Linked DNA regions of Homo sapiens: region 2 is linked to region 1. The links are contacts of gene promoters, found by promoter capture Hi-C in blood cells and fetal thymus (Javierre and others, 2016). All regions are on one chromosome and are shown on one strand. Each heading gives the region's core, a stretch centred on a gene start or on the middle of the fragment in contact. The rest is flanking DNA. Distances are from core to core; before and after follow the strand shown.

Region 1 (7,550 bases), core at 2,304-4,803:
GGCAGGAAATGAGAGAGAGGAGGGTGGAGAGGGGGCTGCCAGACCACAGCAGGGAGCCCTTCTCAGTCTCTGCCGGGGCTGTCTCAGCCAGCCTGGGCCTTCAGCAGAGATGGGGGGAAAGAAGCCCTACCCCATGACAGCCCCCTCCCCAAGTCCTTCTGCAGACAGCTTGACTCTGCTGGCGGTCACTTCTGTCTAAACAGGATGGGAAAGGGGCCAGAAGCTCCCAGGGACAGTATTTGTCTCCATCATTGCCCTGCCCAGCCTCCAGCCTAGAGCTTGGTACAGACGAGTTGATAGCAATGACTGAATGAGCTTCAGGGAGTCAGAGAGAGGAGGCAGGGAGTCAAAGACGCAGAGAATCGGAGAGAGGAGGCAGGGAGTCAAAGAGAGGAGGCAGAGGGTCAAAGAGGCAGGGAATCAGAGAGAGGAGGCAGGGAGTCAGAGAGAGGAGGCAGAGAGTCAGAGAGAGGAGGCAGTGAGACAGAGAGGGGAGGCAGGGAGTCAGACAGAGGAGGCAGGGAGACAGAGAGAGGAGGCAGGGAGTCAGAGAGGAGGCAAAGAGTCAGAGAGAGGAGGCAAGGTGACAGATAGAGGAGGCAAGGAGTCAGAAATAAGAGACAGGGAATCAGGGTGGGGAAAAAGAGAAAAAAAATCCTCTGTGGTTTTTATCTCTGAGAGAAGACTGATTCTTCACATGGCCTGAGCCACGTGGGGCTGTGTGAGACATCTGGACACCTGGACGCCAGGGGACAGTGCCTCTGTGGGCTCCGCCTCCTGCCTCCACATCTTTCTTCCCTCTCTTCCCCCAGAGGTGGCACCATGGGCACCCTCGTAGGCACATCTCTCCTCTGCAGCCTGTTCTCCCTTCTCCATCCTCAGCCAGGCTGACCTCATACAGCGAGGAGCAGACAGGGATGAGTTTGAAGAGCCCTTTGGGAATTTAGAGTCCAATATCAGTGACTGAATGGATTTCAGGAAGTCAGAGAGAGGAGGCAGGGAATCAGAGAGGGGAAGTAAGGAATCAGAGAGAGGAGGCTCAGAGAGGCAGGAAATTCAACGGAGACCCCCTAGCGGCACAGGTATCTGAATGCACATACTGTGACTACTGACCCCATCACAGGGCCATTCTGAGGACAGGTGGAAGCCAGAAAGTTCCCAGAGCAGAGATGAGGGGACGCCATCCTGGGGGCACAGTAACCACAGCCAGGAAGGCATCCATCAGCCCACTTGACTGATGGGGACACTGATGCTCAGAGAGGTTAAGTCACTTGCCCCAGTTCACACAGCAGATGACTAGCTGGGCTGGGATCAGAACCAGGCTGTTTGGCTTCAAAGTCTGGGCTCTTAACTCTATGAAAACCCACCCCCAGCCAAAACTGGTCTTTTCCAAAACACTGTCTGTCTCAGTGAAGCCTCAGCTGGCATCAGGCGGGGGGATGACGCCGAGACATACTATATTCTCACTCCCTCTCTCCCTGCAGGCAGCGGAGCGGAAAGGGGGCAGGCACCTCCCAGGATTCTCCCCTAACCCTGCCAGCCACCTCTGAGCAAGTGCACCTGTGGATTCACCACTTCTCCCTTGAGCCTCTCTCCCAGGGCCTGCCTGAAAGATGAAGGGGTCACACGGGCACAGGCAGCAGGACAAGAGTCTGGACGTGTCCTCCCGGTGTATGCCCCAGAGCCTGTTTCACTGCACTGCCCCTCCTCCACACCCCCATGCCTCCTCCATCAGTGCACACTCAGCCTCTTTGGACACGCACATTGCCATCACTGGCTTCCAGCTGCCACTCTGAGAGTCCGGGAGCTTGGCAAAGCCAACCCCACCACCCTTGGCAGCTCAGGTGGTAGAAGGTAGGCAGGCATCCACTTCTGGCAGGCCAACTCTGCCTCTCACCAGCCCGGCAGCCCTGGGCAAATGACTTGGCTTCCTGGGGCTCAGGTTATTCCTCTGTTAATGGTAAGACATAAACCCCCTGTGTGGCCCTGGGTTTCCAATAAGTCTGGAGGCTGACCCAGCTCTTGACCCGCAGCAAACCTGAACACATGCTGGGTTCTTTTCTTCGTGGCACTTTATCTTGGCAGTCGTGGGGCTGCCTAGAGCAGCCTGGTGAGGCTGGACTGGAATGCAGGCGCAGGTCTTGCAGGGACCCCATCTTGTCTCTGACACCACAGGAGGCTTGATTCACTGGCTCCTGACCTGGCTGCTCCCTCCCAGCCTGGCTTCCCACCTTCCATGAGGTCTTGGACAACATCCCCTGTCATCCTCCTGGTGCTGGGGACAAGGGGAGGGGAGGGCACAGAGAGGCCTCCAGAGCTGCCTTCCGGGCCCTCCAAGACAGCTAAGTTACAGGAAACCCCTCCTGGGAAGGGAATCATCCAGGAAACTCACTCTGCACCAACCCAGAAAAAGCTCAAGAACTCTGGATAACGAAGGAGCTTCTTAATCTTCCTTCCCCACCTCCAGGTAATGCAGGCTGCAGCCAGCTCCAGAAGAGGGACAGGAGTGTTTGTGGTAGTTGACTCGTCTTCCCTGAGCCCCCGTTTCCTCCTATTTAAATGGGCTATTACTCTAGCTCTTTAAATGCAAAGCCTGTGGCACCAAAACTAGCACATAGTAGAAGCTCAATAAATCTTTCTTTCCTGGGATTAAGTCAAGGGTATAGCACTCAGTTTGACACATACAGTAGGTGCTCAACGAATTTAATTCTCTCTAGGTATGCAAAGTTGCCAGACGATCCCGGCACATAGTAGGTGCTCAATCAATTTCACTTTCTCTGGTCATCTAAGGAATCACTGAGCTTTCCTCCTCCAAGCCTCTACCCTTTCTTCCCGGCTGCTCCACTTCCCCCAGATGCCCAGCTCTGTTGGGGCGTCTCCTACCTGGGAATGGCGGGCCGGGCCTCTGGCACGGCTCAGAGAGCTGCCTGGAAGCGCCGGGAGCTGCGGGGAGCTGCCTGCTGCTCCAGCCGCCGAGCCTCCCAGAGTCTGTGGTGGCTCCCGGGTCACTGCGCGGGGATCCTCCCCTGCGCTGCTCGGGACGCCGGGCTGGGCGCGGCCGGGCAAGGAGGCGCAAGGGGCAGGTGCCCCATGGGTGGGCTCCGAGGGCTCGGCGGGGCCCGGGCAGGGGGCGGGCTCCGGCTCGCCGCCGCCGGCCCTGCCCTGCCCCGAGCCGGGGGCCTCCTGCTGAGCCAGGTGCCCGGAGGCTTGGGGACGTCCGATCCGGGGGTCCCCGCCTGGGGCTCTCGGGCTGGGGGCAGAGAGGTAGGGGCGACTCCAGTGATGAAGGAGCAGCTCCTAGAGACTTGGGGAGGGGGGGTCCTTTGGAGGTGACTGTGGGTGCGTGTCCCAGGTGGGCGAACCCTCCTGGTCGCCTATGCCACCTTCTCCGCCTGCCCCAAAGGGGGTCGCTCGGATGGGGGGTATCGGGCTGCCGGGCTCGGCCGCGGCCTCCTTCTCTGCCCGCGGCTCTGCAGCTCTCCCAGCGCCGGAGGGACGGCTTCTTTCTCCCCGCGCGGCGACGCCAGCAGCTGAAGGAGGAGCAGGGCGCTCTGCTCTGCGCGCGTGTGGGAGGGGGCCTTGAACGCCGCCCCAAGGTTTCGCAGCTCCAAGTTAGCATCAACCCGGCTCCTCCTCCTTCACCTCCTCCTGTCCCCAGATGAGGAGAACTTTGTGTGTGGCCCTGGGTTCTCCCTCCTTCCCCCTCTCGCAGGCAGATGCCCCACTGTCACCCGCAGGGCGAAGAGGTCGCTGATCCCTCCGAAAGGTGGCAGAACCCCAGGCTCCTGATGACGGTCCCAGCGGCACCCTCCCGCGCCCCTGCGAGCGTCGCCCACCTGCTCCTTCGGCCCCCCGCGAGCCGCGCCTCCCGCCGCCCAGCGCCAGCGTCTGCCCCCCAGAGCCCGCTCGCCCCGCCCCACCCCGGCGCCCCGCCTCGCCCCGGCGCCCGGCCAATGGGAGGCGGGTCCCGCGGCCCGGCCCCGCCCATCCCTTTCGCGGCCTCCGGGGCGCCGCGGTCTGCGGTTCCGCGTGTCCGGGCGCGTGGGGCCGGGGCCGCTGGGCGCGCGCACCTTGCCCAGAAGGCGGCCCGGGCCTCGGAGGCTGACGTCTGCGCACGCGCTCACACGCACGCCCGGCCTGGCCGCAGGTGACCCGCATGGGGTCCGGCCGCCTGCCCACTCGGCCGGGGTCTCCAGCGGCTTGCGCCCGGCCAGGTCGAGCGCGCCACGGTTCCAGCGCCCTCCTCCTTCGCGGAAGTCCCCGGGTGCCCTCCCAGGTGTCCAACCTGCCTGTCCCAGCCGCCGCCTCCCTCCCGAGCTCACGGTGCCCACGGGACCCTGCGGACTGGCACATGGGCCATGCACGTGTCGCCCAGAGGGGCGGGGAGTCACCTAGGCTTAGTAGCCAGAGGTCTTCGAGGCATGCGAGTCTCAGAGACCACGGCCGACGGGGACACACCAGGTGCCTTGAGCATTGCGTCTCCTGCCTGCATTCTCCCTCCCCACCTTTAAATGAGGGGCTTGACCTAGGCCAGACATCGGGCCTTCTCACTGGGCCATATCTCCACACCACTTATTACTTAATATATTTTTTAAAATATCAGATCCACTTTCCCCACCCCTTAAACACGTTTTTTTAGAGAATCATTATATCACTGCCTTAAATGGGAAATCAGTATCACTTGCCATAAATAGAAAGTAAGAGTTAAAATAAGCACAGTGAAAACAAAGCAAGGTTATTAAATTCCAGCTGGAAACCGTGGCCTGCCAAGGCTTGAGATGTGTGCCCTCAGTGAAAAAGGGAGATTGGCAAGGTTTGGAGAGGTGTTAAATACCCATTAGCACCTAACAGAGACTTTCTCCTTCACATATCAGGAGGCTTAAAAGAGAATGTTCTCGTTGTGTGATACAGCAAAGGGATGGGATGCTGTGTCTGTGTCCCTCAGTTCCAGATCCCTGGACCTCAGGGATGTCTGCCAGCCTCACCCCCAACCCAGATCTGGCCTCCCTACCTCATGAGAGGACGCAGGGGTCTGGGAGGGCACCTGAGGGGTCAGCTCCATTGGCTGAGAGACTGGCGTTCAAGTCCTGTCTCCGTAACTACCTAGATATCTGACCCTGGGCCGTCATGAAAAGTCTCTGGGTCCTGGTTGTGCCATCTCTAAAATGGGTATGATATTGATGGGTCCACAGAATGACAGAAGTACTAAAATGGCCTGGGACTTTGAATATGGAAAGTGACTTGCTTTGCTTGTCTCTGTAACATCTTGAGATTCTCCAGGAAAGTTAACCAGAGAGGATGGGGCAGGTGGGGGTGGAGGGTGCAGTACCTGTACTACCTGATTGTGTTTAATGCCCCAATTTAGGCCACAGAGGGGCTAAGGGGATGTGCCCAAAGTCACCTGGTGGCAAGTGGCAGGATTGCAGCCTGGTGCATTTTCCACATCCAGACTTTGCCTCTGGGAACTGGCTTCAGCCCGGGAGGGTTTGTGCTGGGCATGACACACACAGGCTGTGAGCCTTGAGCTGGCAGTGAACTTGGCAGTGGGAGGTGAGCAGGGTGGCACGCTTCACCTGGAAGGCTGGGGTCAGGAAGACTCAGGTCGCTGGGCCAGCTCTGCCACCTCCATCACGGAAATGTAGCAGACGGCCCAAGAACCAATTGCTCCCTGCTTCTGCAGAGTTGTTCAACAGAATGGGTCATGTCCCACTGACCATATCCCAGTCGCGAGGGGAGCTGCATGTGGAGTGAGAACCCTGGGAGGTCCACTTGCCCCAGCCTCTGTCTTCTGCTCCTGCCCTCCCCCACTCCTGGTATGGTAGGGCTCAGTCAATAAGCAAATACACATAAGGGATCAACTGATGCCCAAGGAAGCTTTGTGTAGCAACAGCACACTTCTCACATGTGCCTATTTTCCCCTTCCCCCCTCCCCACCCACTTGCTTTATCATCCCTCATCAGACCCTTTGTCATAGCTGCCCCCTTCGTCCCTGGGCTCCCTGTCACCCTCTCTCTCCCATATAACCTGTGACCATTTTAGCCCTGTTCTAAAACTGCCACCTCCTGCTCAAGAGTTTTCAAGGGCTCCCCATTGCTTAAGATATAAAATCTTGGGCTGGGTGTGGTGGCTCACGCCTATAATCCCAGCACTTTGGGAGGCCAAGATGGGAGGATCACTTGAGGCCAATAGTTTGAGACCAGCCTGGCCAACATAGCAAAACCCTACTACTAAAAATATAAAATATAATAATTTTATACTAAAAATATAAAAACTACCCAGGCGTGGTGGTGTGCGCCTATAATTCCAGCTACTCGGGAGGCTGGGACATGAGAATTGCTTGTATCCAGGAGGCAGAGGTTGCAGTGAGCCGAGATCGTGTCACTGTGCTCTAGCCTGGGCGACGGAGCAAGACTCTGTCTCAAAAAAAAAAAAAAGATATAAAGTCTAAAAATCTAAATTCCTTATCCTAGCGAACAAGGCCTCCAACCAGGACGTGATTCCCACCATGCCCTGCACTCAACCTCCATTCCAGCAAAATCAAATCACTTCCGGGTCTCTAAAGAAGAGAAGCTATCCCTCCTCTGAGCTTGTGTATGCTGGTTTCTTATCAGGGATACCCTTTTCTCTGTATTTACCCATCAAACTCCTACACATTCTTCAAAGCACTGTGTCCACACTTCTCCCCACAAAACTTACTCCCAGCCTTTCTAATGGTGTGAATCTCCTCCTCTGGGCTCCCACAGCACCAAAGCCTGGCTCTTGTGCTGTGGGTAACTGGTCCTCTCTTTAAGCCTCAGTTTCTTGGCCTGTAAAAGTGGGTGTTACAATAGTAGCTGCCTCGTGGAGTTGTTGGGAGGATTAAAATAAACTGCGAAGTGCTTCACACATAATGGCCTTCACCATGATTACTTCCTCCGTAGCCGGTGTTACTTCCTGCTTCATATTTTGGACACATGCCTCGTCACCCCCATTAGCATGTGAGCTCTTTTGAGTGGGGACCGAGCCTGATTCATCCTTTTATTCTCACATCATTAAGGGCAGCATCTCACACATTATAAGTTTTTAATAAATGCTTATTGAATTGTGTTCAGCCAAACAGTCTCAGAGCAGAAGAAACGTACAAGCTCTCCTTGGACACAGGGAAGGGTGGACAGACACAGTGAAGCAGAGTTTCACTTAGTCCTCCTAACAGCCCCACTTACAGAAGGGGAAACTGAGGTTCAGGGAGACTGTTCAAAACCAGGCAGCTAATGAGAGGCTGAGCTGGGGTCCAAGAGAAATTATTCCAATAGGAAAAAAAGCACACGTCAGGCTGCTTTTCTAGAACAGCAGTTCCTAATGCTGGCGGCGCATTAGAATCACCTAGGGGAGCTTTTAAAAGATACCAAAACCCAGGCTCCCCACTCAGAGATGCTGATTTAATTGCTCTGGAGTTGGGTTTCATCACCATACGGTTTAAAGCTCCCCTAAGTAATTCTAATGTGCACCCAGGGTTGCTAGAGCAGTAATTCTCAAAGTGTGGTCCCTGGACCAGCAGCATCAGCATCATC
Region 2 (7,550 bases), core at 2,015-4,514, 190 kb after region 1:
GAGATGGAGTCTCACTCTGTCGCCCAGGCTGGAGTACAGTGGTGCGATCTCAGCTCAGTGCAACATCCACCTCCCAGGTTCAAGTGATTCTCCTGCCTCAGCCTCCCGAGTAGCTGGGATTACAGGCATGCACTACCACGCCCTACTAATTTTTGTATTTTTAATAGAGATAGGATTTTACCATGTTGGCCAGGCTGGTCTCGATCTCCTGACCTCGTGATCCACATGCCTCAGGCTCCCAAAATGCTGGAATTACAGGCGTGAGCCACTGTGCCCAGCCCAGCATGAAACTTTTGAGGTGGGAAAGACAGCCTGTCTGGAGTGCAGAGAACCTGAAGAATGTGGCAGGGGACAGACTCCAGGGGCCCTGGAGGCCAGGCCAGGAGGTGGGTCTTTAGCCTGAGAGCAAGTGAAAGGTTTTAGGTGTGTGTGTTGGGTTTTGGGGGTGTGGGTATTGTAAAACATGGTCGGATTTGCCCTTTGAAATATATTTTCGGCTGGGTGCAGTGGCTCATGCCTGTAATTCCAGCACTTCGGGAGGCTGAGGTGGGAGGACCACTTGAACCCAGGAGTTGGAGACCAGCCTGGGCAACACAGTGAGACCCCATCTCTGCAAAAATATTTTTTAAAAAAATGACAGCTGGGCGTGGTGGGTCACGCCTGTAATCCCAACACTTTGGGAGGCCGAGGCAGGTGGATCACCTGAGGTCAGGACTTCGAGACCATCCTGACCTCAATATGGTGAAACCCTGTCTCTACTAAAAATACAAAAATTAGCTGGGTGTGGTGGCACGCGCCTGTAGTCCCAGCTACTCGGGAGGCTGAGACAGGAGAACTGCTTGAACCCGGGAAGTGGAGGTTGCAGTGAGCCGAGATCACACCACTGCACTCCAGCCTGGGTGACAGAGCAAGACTCCCTCTAAAAAAATAATAATAAATAAAATAAATAAATAAAAATAAAAATTAGCTGGGCGTGGTGGTATGTGCCTGTAGTCCTAGGTACTCAGGAGGCTGGGTGGGAGGACCGCTTGAGCAGGGGGTAGGGGAGAGGGGACGGGGGAAGCCGAGGTTGCAGTGAGCTGCAATCATGCCGCGGCATTCCAATCTGGGCAACAGAGCACGACCCCATTTCTTTAAAAAAAAAAATGAAATGTATTTGGCAGCATGTGAAGAAGTCACTGAGGGAAGGGCAGAGTCCTCCCCTAACTTCACGTCCAGTAAAAGCCCAAAGTCCTCCTGAAGGTTCCGGCAATCCCTGGTACTTGTGTTTTCACCACTTCCCCCACCCTGCTGTCCCAGCTTCTTCCTATTTCTGCTCTGAACTGTGCTGACTCAGACATGAAACTTGCTCCTTCCCCAGTTCCCCAAAACCCTACTCTTTTTTTATTTTTTTTGAGACGGAGTCTCACTCTGTCGCCCAGGCTGGGGTGCAATGGCGCCATCTCTGCTCACTGCAACTCCACCTCCCGGGTTTGGGCAATTCTCTTGTCTCAGCCTCCCAAGTAGCTGGGATTACATGCGCCCGCCTCCACGTCTGGCTAATTTTTTGTATTTTTAGTAGAGATGAGGTTTCACCATGTTGGCCAGGCTAGTCTCGAACTCCTGACCTCAGGTGATCCATCCGTCTCTGCCGCCCAAAGTGCTGGGATTACAGGGGTGAGTCACCATGCCTGGCCCAAAACCCTACTCTTGACAAATACTTATGAGCAGAGCATTTACTAAAGATCTCAGGGCCACAGAGAGGGGTGACATTAGACAGAACCTAGAGAACAATCTAATACAGCATCTGTTCTTCCGAATCTTTTTTGGCTACTCCTCTCCCTTCCCTCCCTCTACCCCAGTAGTTGACCTCTGATCCTCCCCCAACTCTTTGCCTGGGGCCCAGTAGCTCACCCTCTCCTGCCTTCTCTCTCTTCCCTTTCCCCGTTCTTGTCTCTGTGCTCTCAGGCCCTCTTCCAGATGGCCCGGTAGGATTCACCTCCCTCTTAAGAGCAGAGCAGTCCAGCTGTCTCCAGCTCCCTCCCCAAGCTTGCAGATCCAAAGTCCCTGTGCACAAACATGGACATGAGAGAGCTTCCTTTTCTCCAACCATTGTCTTCAACCATGCCCAGCCTCCACCAGGGTCCTTTGTGACATCTTGGGTGGTTTTGCTAACTTTCTTGTCATTTTCAAGTACAAAAAAGTCCAATCTTGGCGCAGTGGCTCACACATGTAATCCCAGCACTTTGGGAGGCCGAGGTGGGTGGATTGCTTGAGCTCAGGAGTTTCAGACCAGCCTGGCCAACATGATGAAACCCTATCTCTGCTACAAACACAAAAATTAGCCAGACATAGTGGCACACGCCTGTAATCCCAGCTACTTGGGTGGCTGAGGCAGGAGAATCACTTGAACCCAGGAGGCAGAGGCTGCAGTGAGCCGAAATAGCGCCACTACACTCCAGCGTGGGTGACAGAATGAGATCCCATCTCAAAAAAAAAAAAAAAAGTCCAGTCTTGAAGTTTAATCTCACATCGAATTTGATATCCCCTCCTCCCTCCCCTTAGCACTTCAGGAGGGTATGGCCAGCTCCTTCACTCTCCCTTCCTTGCCTCTGTCTCCTGGGTCCCTGTGTTGCAGAGTTGAGGTGAGGGGATGGGAGGGCAGAGCCATGTTTACGTGGGGACGGTGCAGAAGCCAGGGTGGCCGTCGATGGAGATGCCCAATGCGTGTGAAGGCCAAGGCTGGCAGGAGCCGTGGGGGAGCCCCTGGCCAGCAGTGAGCATGGCTATCTTCAGCTCCTGCCCTTTTGGGTTGGGGTTCTGCTCCAAACAGTGGGTGGGCCCAGAGGGGCTGGGCAAACAGAGGCTGTGCTGTTAGTTCCCTCAGATGAGGCTGCCCAGGCAACTGGAGCACTTTTGGATGGAACGAGATACTGCATTGGTGTATTAAAAGTCTGATTACTGCCGGGCGCAGTGCCTCGCACCTGTAATCCCAGCACTTTGGGAGGTCGAGGTGGGTGGATCACTTGAGGTCAGGAGCTCGAGACCAGCCTAGCCAACATGGTGAGACCCCATCTCTACTAAAAATACAAAAATTAGCCAGGCGTGGTGGCATGTGTCTGTAATCCCAGCTACTTGGGAGGCTGAGGCAGGAGAATCACTTGAACCCGGGAGGCGGAGGTTGCAGTAAGCCGATATTGCGCCACTGCACTCCAGCCTGGGGGACACAGCGGGACTCTGTCTCAAAAAAAAAAAAAAAAAAAAGTCTTGATTACTGATGCCCAAAAGGGAAAAATATTAACAACTCAATGCATTGTGGAATGTTTTGTGGCCAAAAATCAAAACAAACAAAACTCTTCTAAATCCATAGTCTTGGGGAGAGACCATGATAGAAGATTTCCTTGGGGAGAGAAGGTTTTAGAACCCACTGGCCTAGTTGGTCTCTGAGGCTGAAAGTTCTGTGGGAGCCCAGAGCACGGTGCAGGGTGCTGGGGAGGGCCTTCTGAAGACAGACTTCCCAGCTGTCCTCCATTCGCCCACCTCCTGCGGGGCAGGTGCTATGGAGGACCGGGATTCTAGTTTCAGTTCTTTTACAAATTTGCTGTGTGGCCTTGGGCAAGTCTCTGCACTGGTCTGGGCCTGAGAAGGGATCCTGAGGGAGGGCCCCATCTCAGCAGCCAGCCTTCTCCCTGCAGGGGTCCAGTGGCCTCTGCAGCCTAAGTGGCTTGCAGGGCTCAGGGCTACTCATACAGATAATGTACACAGTGACTTTTCTAGCCCCAAGGCAGACCTAGGCGCAGCCCCAGGCCCAGAATAGAGTGCACTTCATCCTGATCCCCCAGGGACCTTTTCTCCCCAGAAAAGAGGACTCAATGTTTCCACTTGCCGGCTGTGTGGCTTTGGATTAGCTAGTTGACTTTTCTGACCTCACCCCCTCCTTTGTAAAATGAAGATTCTTTTTTTTTTTTTTAATTTGTATATTTTTTGAGATGGAGTCTCACTCTTGTTGCCCAGGCTGGAGTACAGTGGCGCGATTTCGGCTCACTGCAGCCTCCGCCTCCCGGGTTCAAGCGATTCTTCTGCCTCAGCCTCCCTGGTAGCTGGGATTACAGACACCCACAACCACGCCTGGCTAATTTTTGCATTTTTAGTAGAGACAGGGTTTCGCCATGTTAGCCAGGCTGGTCTTGAACTCCTGACCTCGGGTGATCCACCCACCTCGGCCTCCCAAAGTGCTGCGATTACAGGCGTGAGCCACTGCGCCTGGCTGAAGATTCATTTTTAACAGAGCTTCCAAGGGCTCCAGTGAGGGCAGGGTCCTGTGGGGAGCATGGGCAGCACCCCCATTCCTCAGTTCACCCACTTGCTTTTCCCTTTCCTAGGGGTACCCCAGGGCAGGTGCAAGGATGTCCCCGGCTTGGGTTTCGCTTCCCTCCTGCCCCTAGGCGGTCAGCTTCCTGTGCGGGCATTCAGCAGGGTGTGTGGGTGGCCGCCTCCACCCATTGGTCCCACTGAAGCTTGGGCAGTTGTTTCCCTATCGCCGCTGGTCCTGGAGGGGAGATAAACCCGGGGTCCTGCTTCCCTCTCTTGTAGATATTTGAGTTTCTTTCCTCGTATTTCTTTCCTTTTTGGAAGGAGGATTATGGAATTTGGGGGTTGATAGGGCAGAAAAGCAGAGTGCAAAGGGGCCTTACGCTCTCTTAAATCAAGCCGATTAACAGATGGGGAAACTGAGGCCCAGAGAGAGGAGAAGGCTTGCTCCAAATCAAACAGGAAGTCAGTGTCTGTGCACCGCTGGAAGCTCGGTTGGCTGACTCCTGGGCCGTGCTTGGACCTGACACAGGGGGCCCCAGGAGTCCCCACCCTCCACCCTGCACTGACTTCCCTGTGCTTGTGCGTGGGTGGGGGCTGCTTCCTCCCCGGGCAGGCTGGGCTGGCACACAGAGCCTCCTGGGCCCCTGCACCAGGTAGGGAGGCAGTACACTGGTCAGGGCAGGCCCCTCCCCTCCCTGGGCCTCCACTTCCCTGTCTGCACATTTCTCACCCGCCTCAAGAGGTCCAAGTGCCCTGCCAACCTGACTCTGACCCACTGGGGATTTGGGGCCCTGGTCAGCTTGGGTTCCTTCCCTCTGCTGGCCAGCCTGGTCCACGGTGCACAGAGGGTGCAGGGCCAGCCTGCAGCAGGGGCAGGAAGACGTCACGGGAGTCCTGAGTCAGAGGCAAGGGGTGAGGATTCGGCCCGGCGAAGCTGCTTCCTCCAGTCTCGCCCTGTACCAGGGTGGGTGGAAGTGAAACCTGCCAGCTTACCCGCTTGGGTCTGCTCTGAAAAAACAAGCGGACATGGGGACCAGGAGAGCAGCCCCAGCCCAGCTCCCAGCACCTGTATCTCCCTCCACTCTGCCGGCACCCCTGCTCGCTCCTGGTCCCATGGCTAATCCTTGGATCTAAGGCTAGGCTGCCCTAGGATGAATCTAGCCACCCTCAAACTCCCACTAGGGCAGGGGGCAGGGGGCAGGGAGTGGAGGCGGGTGTTTCATGTGGCAGCCCCTCTGAAGACACTGTGGCCACCTGCGAAAGAGCAGTGTGTCTGGGAGAATGGACCCAGGGCCTAGAGGGCAGCAGAGGGCAATACAGGGCTGCTTCGTCCCTTTGAATTCATACGTTGAATCTCTAATCCCTAGTATATCAGAATGCGATTGTATTTGGAGGTAGGACCTTTAAAGAAGTGCCAGGCACTGTGGCTCACACCTGTAATCCCAGCACTTTGGGAGGCCGAGGCGGGTGAATCACACGAGGTTGGGAGTTCGAGACCAGCCTGGCCAACATGGAGAAAACCCGTCTCTACTAAAAATACAAAATTAGCCAGGTGTGATGGCGCATGCCTGTAATCTCAGCTACTCAGGAGGCTGAGGCAGGATAATTGCTTGAACTGGGAGGCGGAGGTTGCAGTAAGCCGAGATCGCGCCATTGCACTCCAGCCTGGGCAACAAGAGTGAAACTCTGTCTCAAAAAAAAAAAAAAAAAAAGTGATTAAGGTACAATAGGTACAATAGATCATTAGGTGGACTCTAATCCTTGATGAATGCTGTCCTTATAAAAATGGGACTTTTGAACATAGAGAGATGCAGAGGGGATATGATGTGAGGCCCCAGGGAGAAGATGACCATATACAGCCACGGAGGGGCCGGAAGGAACCAACTGAACAGATGGAGTCCACGTCCTTGATGTTGAACTTCAGCCTCTAGAACTGTGAGAAAGAAGATTTCTGTGTCTAGGGGCCTGTCTGTGGGGCAGGGTGGTGGCGGTCCACGCGGAGAGGGTGGGAGGCACTGGCAGGACGGGGCAGTGGTGGCAACAGAGATTGGTTTCTGCGGGGATGGGGGGAGAGAAGGAATGAAGGACGGCGGGAAGCAGGTTTCTCACTGCTGGAGAAGGGAATTAGACATAGGGGAAGGGCGGAAAAGAGAAGGAATCTGTGGTAGAGCTGGAGTTACTGGGCGAGCTCATGATTTGTCTACACGTGGAGACAGAAACGGCAATGCACACGGATCTGAGCGTGTCGGCTGAGAAGGCGCGGGAGCAGGGGGCCCCAGCAACGGCACACCGGGGCTCTGTAAAGAGAGGGAGGGGACCGGGCTCACTTTTGCCCACCCAAAGCTCCCGTAGCTGAGCTCCCAGCTTGTCTCACCAAATCCTCCCCACAACCCTGTGAATCGGGACGTTTAAGAAGATCTGAGGCTTCCAGAGATGAAATCCCTTGTGTAGTCCCACAGCAGAGCCCGGCGGTGAAGCCAGACCCTCGGACTCCAGCTCCCAGCCCCATCACCATTGTTACTCAGCCCCACCAGTCAGAGGGCGTGTGCGCGTGTGTGTGTGCACGCGCGCGCCTGTGAGCTCGCGCGGGGCAGGAGCGGGCAGGAGCCGGCAGCACCCGCCCCTTTCTCCCGGTGTCTGTACCCGGGAGGGGCTGATTTGGCCGCGGTGGACTCCACCCTAGTGCCCCGGCAAGCCCTGTACATGCAGTGCTACTGCCATCTCGTGGTCGCCTTGAAACACTGACCCTGAGCAGGGGCCGTAGACCGTGCTCAGGACTCAGAACTGGGCCTACCTCCAGCCACCTTGGAGCGGGCAAAGGCTTCCTAAAGCGCCTACCGAGAGCCCGCAGAGCCCAATCCAGGAACGCCAGGGGGACCCTGCCGTGTTGCCAGGATCAAGACAGCCCTGACCCTCTTAGGGTTAGCAGCCCAGACCAGGAGGAAAGACAGACACAGTCCTTTGGTTCTCTCCCAGTGGGGAGTAGGGACAGACGTTATTCTGGAGCTGGGAAGGCAATACCAGAGGCAGAGCAGGGGTCCCTAGAATTACTGAGGAGTCTGAGGGGCAGGGCTCTGAGCCAGGTGTCTGGAGCAGAGGCCATTCTGGAAGGGAGCAGGGAACCATCCGTGACAATAACAACATGTACAGAGCATTGTCTACATGGCAGGTGCTGAGTTACTTGTTGGCTCAGTCAACCCTAACAACCCTATGAGGCAACGAGTGTTATCTGCCCATTTTACCAGTGAGAAAACAGA

What was found. Contacts are between HindIII fragments. The CHiCAGO score rates a contact against its expected background, and 5 or more counts as called.
Region 2: a fragment that was not itself captured here is called in contact with the fragment with the promoter of RASD2 in region 1 in 2 of 17 cell types (erythroblasts and M0 macrophages); the score reaches 5.3 in erythroblasts.

Annotation. Positions count from the first base shown.
Region 1 is chr22:35,536,834-35,544,383 of GRCh38, reverse strand. It overlaps RASD2 (RASD family member 2), which reads right to left and starts at 3,553. Exons shown (of 3, transcript NM_014310.4): 1 at 2,884-3,553. RefSeq lists enhancers at 3,203-3,765, 3,766-4,328, 4,329-4,891 and a silencer at 3,862-4,081. The HindIII fragment of the contact is 7,504 bases long and covers 1-5,876 here.
Region 2 is chr22:35,350,378-35,357,927 of GRCh38, reverse strand. No RefSeq gene overlaps it. Among named protein-coding and RNA genes, the nearest start is that of MIR6069, 17 kb to the right of the region's middle. RefSeq lists enhancers at 4,751-4,810, 5,311-5,450, 4,754-5,629, 6,761-6,880, 6,447-6,955 and 1 more and a silencer at 6,981-7,100. The HindIII fragment of the contact is 2,468 bases long and covers 2,031-4,498 here.